Linked DNA regions of Homo sapiens: region 2 is linked to region 1. The links are contacts of gene promoters, found by promoter capture Hi-C in blood cells and fetal thymus (Javierre and others, 2016). All regions are on one chromosome and are shown on one strand. Each heading gives the region's core, a stretch centred on a gene start or on the middle of the fragment in contact. The rest is flanking DNA. Distances are from core to core; before and after follow the strand shown.

The links. The method cuts DNA at HindIII sites, captures the fragments that hold promoters and counts their contacts. A CHiCAGO score of 5 or more calls a contact.
Region 2: a contact is called between a fragment that was not itself captured here and the fragment with the promoter of CACYBP in region 1, in 1 of 17 cell types (total B cells). The highest score is 7.5, in total B cells.

Annotation. Positions count from the first base shown.
Region 1 is chr1:174,998,174-175,003,677 of GRCh38, reverse strand. It overlaps CACYBP (calcyclin binding protein), which reads right to left and starts at 3,731. Exons shown (of 6, transcript NM_014412.3): 1 at 3,483-3,731. The coding sequence starts at 3,497. It overlaps LOC105371622 (a long non-coding RNA gene), which reads left to right and starts at 4,032. Exons shown (of 2, transcript NR_188647.1): 1 at 4,032-4,083. RefSeq lists a silencer at 3,711-3,830 and enhancers at 3,861-4,370, 3,922-4,458, 4,401-4,610. The HindIII fragment of the contact is 3,791 bases long and covers 3,143-5,504 here.
Region 2 is chr1:173,408,747-173,414,362 of GRCh38, reverse strand. The region is part of intron 2 of LOC100506023 (a long non-coding RNA gene); the gene reads left to right. It also overlaps a transcript of TNFSF4 not described here. Among named protein-coding and RNA genes, the nearest start is that of PRDX6-AS1, 50 kb to the left of the region's middle. RefSeq lists enhancers at 510-559, 3,115-3,664. The HindIII fragment of the contact is 6,231 bases long and covers 1-5,616 here.

The sequences.
Region 1 (5,504 bases), core at 2,482-4,981:
CACTACCAACTTGACCAAAAAAATCTTGTGTCACAGCTTGATATCAAAAGCTCAATTTAAAAAAGTCTTTTAGTGCTTTATAACTCAGAATATCAGACGCACAACAGAGTTTGAAAGCCTGTTTCTTAATAGTCTTATAAAATGCAATAACAGAACTAATTCTTTTCTTTTACTACAAGTCTTTTGTTATCTCATTTAACTCAGATGCCCTAGTTTTGCCTATCTATAACAGATGACATGGTATAAAAAGTTCAACTCTGGCCAGGTGCAGTGGCTCACACCTGTAATCCCAGTACTTTGGGAGGCCAAAGCGGGTGGATCACTTGAGGTTAGGGGTTCGAGACCAACATGACCAACACGGCGAAAGCCCGTCTCTACTTAAAATTCAAAAATTTGCCGGGTGTGGTGGCACGTGCCTGTAATCCCAGCTACTCGGGAAGCTGAGGCAGAAGAATCGCTTGAACCCGGGAGGCAAAGGTTGCAGTGACCCGAGATCGCGCCATTGCACTCCAGCCCGGGCAACAAGAGCAAAACTCGGTCTCCCAAAAAAAAAAAAAAATCAACTCTGCCCAACCCTCTTGTCCACACTCTCGACCCTTCCAAGAACAGCTCATATTACTATGACAAAAAATCTTGCAAACTCATCTTTTGAGCATAGAACCAAAATGTTTCAGTTCAAAGTAATATTTTTATTGTAATGGTTTCAAAAAAACGCTGATTCTACAACTCCTAATTCATAATAAAAATATTGAAATGTAAAATGAAATATATTAAGTCTAAGCAAGAGGTTTTGCTTTTTGACTGAAATAGGAATACTTTATCTAGCAGAATGAGAAAGGTACTTCGAATTAGGCAAGGGATTCCCCCAATGGCTGAATTCCCAAGCCCTCTTTATTGCCAGTTTTGACTCTAAAGTACTCTTTTTATTATGAAGTATCCACTGAAAAAACTTAAAACTGAGACAGTTCCTCAGTTCTGTTATTGGCAGACTTGAAACCAACAAAGGTGATTCCTTTGATGCTTTTTCTGCACAAATACTTTAAGATGTCCTAGTTTCCTATCTAATTTATCATGTAATTTTCCTTGCCTTCTTGGCATGTGTTTGTTTTACGTATATAAAAATTTTATTTCTCTTTTATCCCTACCCATAAGGCATTCAAGCTTTATCTTCCTATTTCCTAATTTTTCACTAGGAGGCATTAACACCAATGTGCCTCAAAAATGGGCAAAGGAATTCAACACACATTTCTCCAAAGACACAGAAATGGACACCAAGAACATTAAAGATGCTCAACATCTTCATCATTGGGTAAACGCATATCAAATTCCCAAGATGCCACTTCACACCCAGTAGGATGGTATCATAAACCGAAAAAGAAAAATAAAACACCCCAGAAAATAACAAATGTTGATAATGATGTGGAGAAACTTTCAGAAGCTTCAAACATTTCTTACAGGAATATGATGCAACCACTCTGGAAACAGTCTAACAGTTTCTCAGAAAGTTACCATATGAACCAGTAATTCCACTCCTAGGTATATACCCCAGAGAACTGAAAACACATCCACACAAAAAACTTGGATACAGTACTCGCAGCAGCATTATTTATGCTAGTCACGAAGTGGAAATAAGGCCAGGCGCCATGGCTCACACCTGTAATCCCAGCACTTTCAGAGGCCGAGGCGGGCGGGCGGATCACTTGAGATCAGGAGTTCGAGACCAGCCTGGCCAACGTGGTGAAACCCCGTCGCTACTAAAAATACAAAAATTAGCCGGGCATGGTGGCGCGCGCCTGTAATCCCAGCTTCTCAGGAGGCTAAGGCAGGAGAATCCTTTGAACCCGGGAGACGGAGATTGCAGTGAGCCGAGATTGCGCCATTGCACTCCAGCCTGGGCGACAGAGCGAGACTCCGTCTCAAACAAAGAAGTGGAAATAAATGTCCATAAACGGATGAAAGGATAAACACAATGTGCCACATGCATATAATAGAATATTATTTAGCCATAAAGAGCATGTGTACTGATACACGCTACACCATGGATGAACTTGAAAATGTTAGTGCTAAGTTGAAGGAGCCAAAAAACAAAAGGCCACATACAGCGTGACTCCATTTATATGAAATGCCTACAATAGGCAAATTCACAGAAAGTACAAGATGAGTAGTTGTCAGGGGCTGAGGGAGGAATGGGAAGCAATTGTTTAAAACACACTACATGGTTTCTTTCTGGAGTGATGAAAATGTCCTGAAACTAGACAGTGGTGATGGCTGCACTACACTGTGAATATATTTAAACAAAAAACAAATACCTGAATTGTACACTTTAAAATGGTTAAAAACTTGAATTTTATCTCAAACAAAACAAAAATCAAGTGCCCTCAAATGTATATTTCTAAGTGCCTAAACTGAGAACGATCTCTACTTTCAAGAGGACTAACACTGAGCTATCCACCTGCAAGACTGTGAAGTTATCTCCTAGGGGCACATAGTACCCAAGACCTACCTTAAAAGACTTGTCACAAGATACCCAGATTAATACTGGAACACACAAACCTCATAGTTTTTCTTCATTTAAAGAAAAGATTTTGAGTTTAAAAAACAAAAACAAAACAAAACAAAAGCTTGGGACTCCCCAGTACTTGTTTTCATAAAGCAAATCTAGTTAATACACACCCAACACTTAACTGTGAATAACTGTCCCGTCTTCACCTCCCACTTACGCCAGGAAATGAGCAATACAAGTACTATCATTCCCATTTTCTAACTGAGCAAACTAAGTCTCCACAAAATTTAATTCTCCAACGTTCAGAGTTTACAGAGCTTTAACACAGGCCATTCGCTTTCTTACTATTAATTACAACTAACTTTCCAAGTTATTTATTTTAAAAATCACATACAGCAGATTGCTGTTTGCCAATCACTGACTTAAACACCTAGAAATCATATTTTTTAACAACCCTATGAAATGGATGCTACTGCGACACAGAGAAGCTAAACAACTTGCCCAGAGTAACACAGCTCCTCGTGTGTAGAGAAAACCTGACTAGGAGAATTCAAGTGCTAGCACTGAGAACTCACCTTCCAACCGCCCTCTACCAAGAACGACACTCATGTTTGCACCCAGCTTTGCTTGAATGAAGCTTCCTGTCCACTGGCTGGGAAACCAGGGCAGAAAGGGCCTGAGGAACACGCGCAAAGGGCCGCTCTCCCAGACCCACTCCCCGCACCGCCTGCACGGATAATCGCCGCACACCCCCGCTCGAGCCCAGCAGGCGAGTGGGGTGCGAGGTCGAGTGGAAGCGCTGGGGAGCCGACGGCGCAGCAAGGGGCGAGTGAGGTGTCCCCCGGGAAGGCGGCGCACTGACTGGCGCGGGACCGGGTGGCCGCAGGGCGGCTCAGCCCACGGAAACGGCGGTAGGGCGGGAGGCTGGCGCTGCAGCTCCAGCCGGGGGGCATAAGGAATATGGGGCCGGACCACTTACCTCTTCTGAAGCCATGGGGGCTGGGTCAGGCCGAAGTCCCGAGCTGCAGCCGCGCAGAAGGAGGAACAGGAAACCCCGCGCCGAGCCCTCAAACCGAGCGCAGACGCCTACCCGCACGAGTCGCGGCGCTGCAGCCTGCGCCCACACCGACCCTGCGCAAGATCGCGGCCCGCCTCCCGCACGCGACGGATCTCGAACCTTCGCGAGGCAGCCGCCGCCACCGCCCACCGCGAGCACGCACAGCCCGCCAAGCCTGGCTCCACCCACCCTTCCTCGCCTCGCCGAGCCTAGCCCCACCCCTCCCCGCCCCGCCGAGTCTGGCTCCGCCCGCCTGCCGAATCTCCTAGCAACGCTCAAGTCTCGCGAGCGAACCGGCAATCCGAGAAGAGTAATGTCTTGCTCTCCGCCCTGACAACTTTTATGTATTATAATTTGACCGCGCTGGGCCACGCTGCGCAGTCGCAGCTCGGAACCGCTGCGTTAACCCAGCCCCGGAAATAACGTACCGATCTTCGGAGTCCAAGTCGGAAGTTGACTAGAGAGTCACCTGCTTTCGTCCGCTCTAGGACACCAGACACACCAGGCCGCCATGTTGTGTAAGGTTAGTCTCTCAGCCTCCGCGAGAAGAAGGCGAAAAATGGGGAGGAGCAGCCTGGTTACTTTCAAACGAGAAAGAACGGATATGTTAAGCGTGGAGGGCTCCTAATGGTAGCGGTTTGATTTTCAGTGAGTTTGGCGCGGTGGAGACGTCACCGCGGTCTAACAGTTCCGACGTGGTGGCGTCATCACTGGCCGCCGTAGGAGGTGGAGCTACGTTGGCCTCGTGACCGGGCCCTGTAGCGGAAGCCCAGGTCAAGGCCCTAACAAAAGGGCCCGCCTATGGCCACAGTTTCAGGCCCTCCTTTCAGTCATGGACTGTTGAAGCACGATTTCCTGGTGCTTTCGCCCCTTTCACCGACCATTTCAAGAGTCCGTAGTTCTCGCCTGGGTTTGGATTCGGTATAAGTGAGCCTGTTTACCATCAAAGAAAATGGTGAAATGTCTTCTGGAGACGATGTTCTCTTCTGGTTCTAACCCTGTCACTCAGTGAGACCCCCAGAGAAGCCTAGTTTTCAGATTATTCTAGTCCTTGGCAGGCTCAAGATGTCAACAACACGGTTGGAAACAACCCCTGAGAGGTCACATAGCGCGCACTCAGCTTTACAGATCGTCCAAGGCAGCGACCCCTGAGAGGTCACATAGCGCGCACTCAGCTTTATAGATCGTCCAAGGCAGCAATTAGAATCAGCAACTCGGAGAGGAAAAAAAGCTGTTAGCGGAATGGAGGCTGACCATTATCTGTAGTAAAGAATCGGAAGTACAGTACAAAAATAAATTACCGAAACGCAACATGCGTGAATTTCACACAAAAAAATGAAGTTGAGGGAAAGAAGCCAGACATGGAAGAGTTCATATTGCGTGGTTCCATTTAAAAACTAGCCCATGGTGTTAATGAGCATAGTGGGGAGGACAATGACATGAAAGAGCCACCAGGGGGCTTTTGAGGTTCAGGTAATGTTTCTTGATTTGGACACTGATTATAGATAGGTGGGTTCACTTTAGAAATCTCATTGAGTTGTAAACGTATATTTATGTACGTAGTTTTTTCTGTAGATTATGCTTAAGGCCCGGCGAAGGGGAATTTGCCCAGGTAATGGAAATATTACACCGATACATAGAATTGTCAAAGTTCATGGGATGAACTCCTAAGAGCTGTGTATTTTATCGTATAAATTTTTTTAAGTGTCCAACCAATAGCCTGGAATTATTAAGTACATAATTAAATAAAAACAAATATCCCATGGACCTAATGCAGTGAACAGTTACCTCGTTCTCTTAATTGCTCAGGCTAAGGACTCATACCTGAGTCTTCTATCTCAGGCCTTACATCTTATATAACAAGCCTTACTGGCTTAATCTTCAAAATATGTAGCGAATTTAACGAGTTCTCACAACCTCTGCTTCTACCACCTGACGGGGTTT
Region 2 (5,616 bases), core at 1,619-4,118, 1.6 Mb after region 1:
CCTAATCTGGTGTCCTTGTAAGAAGAGGAAGAGATACCAGAGATCTTTTCCTCTGTGCACACACAGAGGAAAGGCCATGCAAAGACACAGTGAGAAGGTGGCCGTCTGCAAGCTAGGAAGGGAGGTTTTACCAGAAACAGAATTTTCTGGCATCTTGACCTTAGACTTCTTACTTCCAGAACTGTGAGAAAATAAAAATGTCTGTGGTTTAAGCCCTCCAGTCTGTGGTACTTTGTGATGGCAGCCTGAGCACACTAGTACAATACCTATCCTGTGGGTTTACGATGAGAACTGAACATAAGGTGAGTTGAGGACCTAACTGCAATTCACACGTTGGCTTGTCCCCCTTTCCTCCTGTCATGTGATTTGTAGGGTGTTAAGGGTCTTTTGCCAGCAGACACCTTCCTTGTGACCATATGATGGTGTGGAAAATTCACACAGTAGAAGCATTCTTTTGGATTCAGGCTTTGCTTCTCTGTATAAACTAAAAGGGGGAATTTTCTGAAAGCATGTTATTATCAGTTAGGATTCCTGGTTTCAAGCAGTGTACATGGATTGGCTGGTTTAGGCCAAAAAGGAACTATTGAAAGGATATAGACTGGGGTACAGGATTGGCAGGAAGGATGGAGGATCAGATGTGGGGCCTGCCAGCTGGCAAAAGGGCCAAACGTCACACCTTAGAATGGGGCGTGAGGACTGCAGGGCTATGCTGCTGGGCGCCGGCTGCTGCTGCTCGCTCCTCTGACCCTGTGAACACTGGCCTGCTGTGACACTGCTGGACTAGACTCTTCTATGACCAAGTCCTCCACACCGATGTGCCCTGTGGTCTCTGTGATTCTGGAGCGCTGCTGTCTCCTTGGCTGAGCTTAGATCATGAACACTGGCATTTTCAGCACTGAGAGTGGGAGGCAACTCTGCCTCCTGTCAAGATTCATAAGGTGGGGAACTTCCCCAAACAATTAAAAGCAGGCTCAAAATGCCAGATGGTCAAAAAGAATAACAAGTTCCCCCACAGATACAGGGAAACCTTTCAGAACCCCCACATAGGAAGTGCAGCTTCACTCACAGGAGTGAGAACAAAGAATTGGAAAGCCGACGGCTGGTTACTCTGCATCTCTCTGCCCCTGTCTCTCTGTCTCTGTGTCTCTGTCTTTCTCTCTCTCCTATATTTTCCAGCTCCACTTGCTAAAGGTAAGGCCCACCTCTGTCCTGACCATTAGAAATTAGTTGTCTCCCTTAGAACATCTTTTTCCTCATCTTCTGCAAATACTTTTCAATCCCCCTTGGAGATTCCCTCCTCTGTCCATTTTTGGTCTGGGTGGGCTCCATCCTCAGCCCTCAGGATGGGCCATAGGACCCCGTCCCAAGCCAATCAACACACTATTCCCTTGGATGCAGGAGTGAGTATGTGACCTAAACAGCCTCGATTCCCACCCCCTTTTTTATTGAACTCAAACTTATCTGTTGCAAAGTGTACAAAGTATACAACTTGATGAATTTTACATAAAATCCGTTGTATACATCTGTGGAATCATTACTGAGATTGAGATACTGATCATTTCCATCAGCCCAGCACCTCCCCTTGTAGTCCTTCTCTGTAATACTCCACTCAAAGATAATCACTATTCCGACTTCTGTTACCATTAATGGAAATTTTACCCATTTTTAAATTCTATATGAATGGAATAATATGTAATCTTTGGTGGCTGGCTGTTGATCTTTCTGTTACTGACTTGCAGCAGTTCTTTATTTTGGATATGAGTCCTTTGCTAAATACATATATTGCAAATATATTTTCTTAGCTCATAGTTGCGTTTTGACTCTCCTAACGATGTCTTTTTAGGAATATTAGTTCAAATCGCTAGTCTTTCCTATGGTTAATGCTTTTAATTTGTTCTATTTAGAAAATCTTTTAATGCTTTTAATTTGTTCTGTTTAGAAAATCTTTGCACACTCTGAGATCATGCGCAAGTTAATGACTTTGAAGGACGAAGAAGTAAAATGTTTTTGTTGCATTTGAGATTGTGAGGCAGTGAGGCTGAGCCAGAAACGAAGACAGAAAGCAGATAGACTTGTAGGGCTGGCCTTGAGATGGGGCACTGTCACAGGGTGAGTCTGAGCTTTGCAGGCACTGTCTATTTACTATAGTTGTGGCTGAAATCAGAGGCAGGCCAAGTGGATGAGACATGGGGCAGTTGACCTCAGAAGAGATTCCTTTAACTATTTCCTTTTTTTTTTTTTTTTTCTTGAGATGGAATCTTGCTCTGTTGCCAGGCTGGAGTGCAATGGCGCAATCTCAGCTCACTGCAACCTCCGCCTCCCAGGTTCAAGCAATTCTGCCTTAGCCTCCTGAGTAGCTGGGATTACAAGCGCCCACCACCATACCCAGCTAATTCTTTGTATCTTTAGTAGAGACGGGGTTTCACCGTATTGGCCAGGCTAGTCTCGAACTCCTGACCTCGTGGTCTGCCCGCCTCGTCCTCCCAAAGTGCTGGGATTACAGGCATGAGCCACTGCACCCGGCCAACTATTTCCTTTTTAAAATTTTTTTATTTTTATTTTTTGAGAGAGTCTCACTCTTTGGCCAGGCTGGAGTGCAGTGGTGTGATCTTGGCTCACTGCAACCTCTGCCTCCTGGGTTCAAGTGATTCTCATGCTTCAGCCTCCTGAGTAGCTGGGATTACAGGTGTGTGTCACCATGTCCAGCTAATTTTTTTGTATTTTTAGTAGAGATGGAGTTTTGCCATGTTGGCCAGGCTGGTCTCAGACTCCTGGCCTCAAGTGATCTGCCCACCTCAGCCTCCCAAAGTTCTGAGAATACAGGAGTGAGCCACTGCACTCAGCCTAACTATTTCTTGATCAAATATTTTATTGAGCTCTTCTGCTGCAAGATGACATCCTCATGGAATTTATATTCTAGAGGATTTTAGAGATTATTTTAAAATACCTTCTTATAGTCCAGATTAGGAAGCCAAGGTGAAGACATGAAAAATAATTTGCTTGTCATCACAGAGCTAGGGAAGAAGCACAGCTAAACCAGAACTACAGCTGGAACCCAGGTCTCCTGGATTGAACTGTCCCCGCCCCTGCCCCTGCCCCTGACACTAGTCCAGCAAAGAAAGACCTGAGGGGTGCTGGTGATGAGTGATGACTGCTCTGCCTCAGGCTGAAGATAGAAGCAGCCTATCTCAGGTGGGTGGAAATTTTCCTTTCTTCCTTTGACCATGGGCAAAGTGATATGCCCTGGTCCGCAGCAACAGAGACTTCAGGAAGCCCACACACGTCAAGCGGCCAAAGCGGACCAGTGTCAGCAGGGGGAAATCAGAGGGACTTCCCCCAAGTCCTTCCTGTCAAAGAAAGAAGCATGAGAGGCCTTCATGAAGGTGAAAACCACACATTAAGGACTAGTCCAGACTGGGTACATGTCTCCCCAGTGCAGCTGCTACCCCTTGGGTTTTACCCCAGGACACTGGGTTCCGTCCTGTCATGGTGGTCAGTGCTGGAAAGTTGGGGTTTAAAGCTGTACACAGAGCTTCAGGCAAGTCCTAGGCCAAAGTTCAGTCCAAGGAGCACCAAGGTCTTCTCACTAGCAGCAGGTAGGAAATGATGGACATTGGATGATAACCTGGAGGCCAGTGACATGGTGAGACCACTTCTGACTCCCTCATTTCCCATCTCTGACATCACATCTCCACCACGTGGGCTCACTTAGACATGCTCACAACTATTAAGGTACCACTGGGGGCTTCCTATGACCAAGTCCCTTTAAATGTCTTTTGAATGTTCCCTCCCATTGTGAGAGGAAGGTAGTAATAAGGTGGTACCAAAATAGAATCTTGACACCCATTTACAACTTTTATTTGAGAAGAAGAAATGGGGAGTTGATGAGTGAGTATACGGAGAACCAGTGAGTGAGTGAATGTATATATGTATCTATTTACTTTCCTGGGCCCCAGTAACCTTATTCCTTGAATTCTTGTTGAACCGCAAATTTAGAGCTTCTTTGTAGGTTAGTCTGGTGATTCACTGTTGGTTTGTGGGTGTCAGACATGCAACTGTGACAGCTGTCATCATCTTCTGTTTATGCTGGATTGTGGACTTCTTAAGATCAAGGCCTGTGTCTTTTTTTATTTTTTATTTTTAAATTGAGGCAGTGTCACACTCTGTCACCCAGGCTGGAGTGCAGTGGTGCAATCACGGCTCACTGTAGCCTCAACCTCCAAGGCTCAGGTGATCCTCCCGCCTCATTTTTTGATTTTTTGTAGAGATGAGGTCTCACTATGTTGCCCAGGCTGGTCTCAAACTCCTGGGCTCAAGTGATCCATCCACCCTGGCCTTCCAAATTGCTGGGATTGTAGGTGTGAGCCACTGCACCTGGTTTTTTAAAAAATTTAAGTTTATGTTTTATTGAAGTATAATATGTATACAGAAAAGAGTACAAACCTTGAATGCAGCAGGAGGGTGTACATGTACATAAAGGACTTACACCCGTGCACTCAGAGCCTAGATCAGGAAGCATGGAGAGCTGCGGGAGCTCCTCAGGGCTTACTGCCAGCCACCACTTCCCCTTCATCCTCCTGCCAGCGTAACCACTGCCTGCACTTCTCACACTGTAGATTAGATTTGCATGTGGGAGTCATATTTTTATGCCAGAAAAGAATACTTGATTTTTAAGAAAAAATCACTAAAAGCAAATGTCCTTCAGGGAATACACAATAGTTCAGTTATAAATTCTGTAGTCTTGGGCTTTACCTTAAAAAGTTTGATGACTTTCAATTTAATTTTTTCTTCTTATTTTGAAATAATTTCAATCCTAAAGAAAACTGGCAAGAATAGTATAATGACTTTTTTTTCTGAACTGTTGGAGAGGAAATTATTGCATGATGCCGTATCACTTTAATATTTGAATGTATCATTCCTGGACCCAAGGACATTCTTCTATATAAAAATAATACAACTATCTAAGTTATAAAAGTATTAATAACATTAATACATTACTAACATTGAATCTGCAGACACCATTCCAGTTTCCCCAGCTGTCCCAATAAATGTGATTATCGCAGAAGTTCAGGATCAAGCACTGCATTTGGTTGTTGTGCCTCTTTGACCCTCTCAGAGTAGGGGAGTTCCTCAGTCTTTCCTTGATTCCATGACCTTCACATTTTAGTAGATTACAGTTATTCTGTGGAATGCTCCTTCATTTGAGTTTGTCTCATATTTCCTCAGAATTAGATTTAGGTAATGCTTTTCATTTTTGGTAGGAATAGCAGAGAAGTGATGCTGTGTATGGTCTTCTCATTGCATCCTACAGGTGGTGCACAATTTCAGTTTGTCTTATTAATGGTGATGTTCACTTTGATCACTTAATTAAGAGGTGTCTGCCAGTCCTCTTCACTGTAAAATTATTATTTTTTAAAAAAATTTGTAAATATTTTACGGAAGGTACTTTGAGACTATTTAAATATCCCATTCTGGCCAGGTGCAGTGGCTCATCCGTGTAATCCCAACTCTTTGTGAGGCCAAGGAGGGTGGATCACTTTAGGCCAGAAGTTTGAGACCAGCCTGGGAAACATGGTGAAACCCCCCGTCTCTACTAAAAATACAAAATTTAGCCAG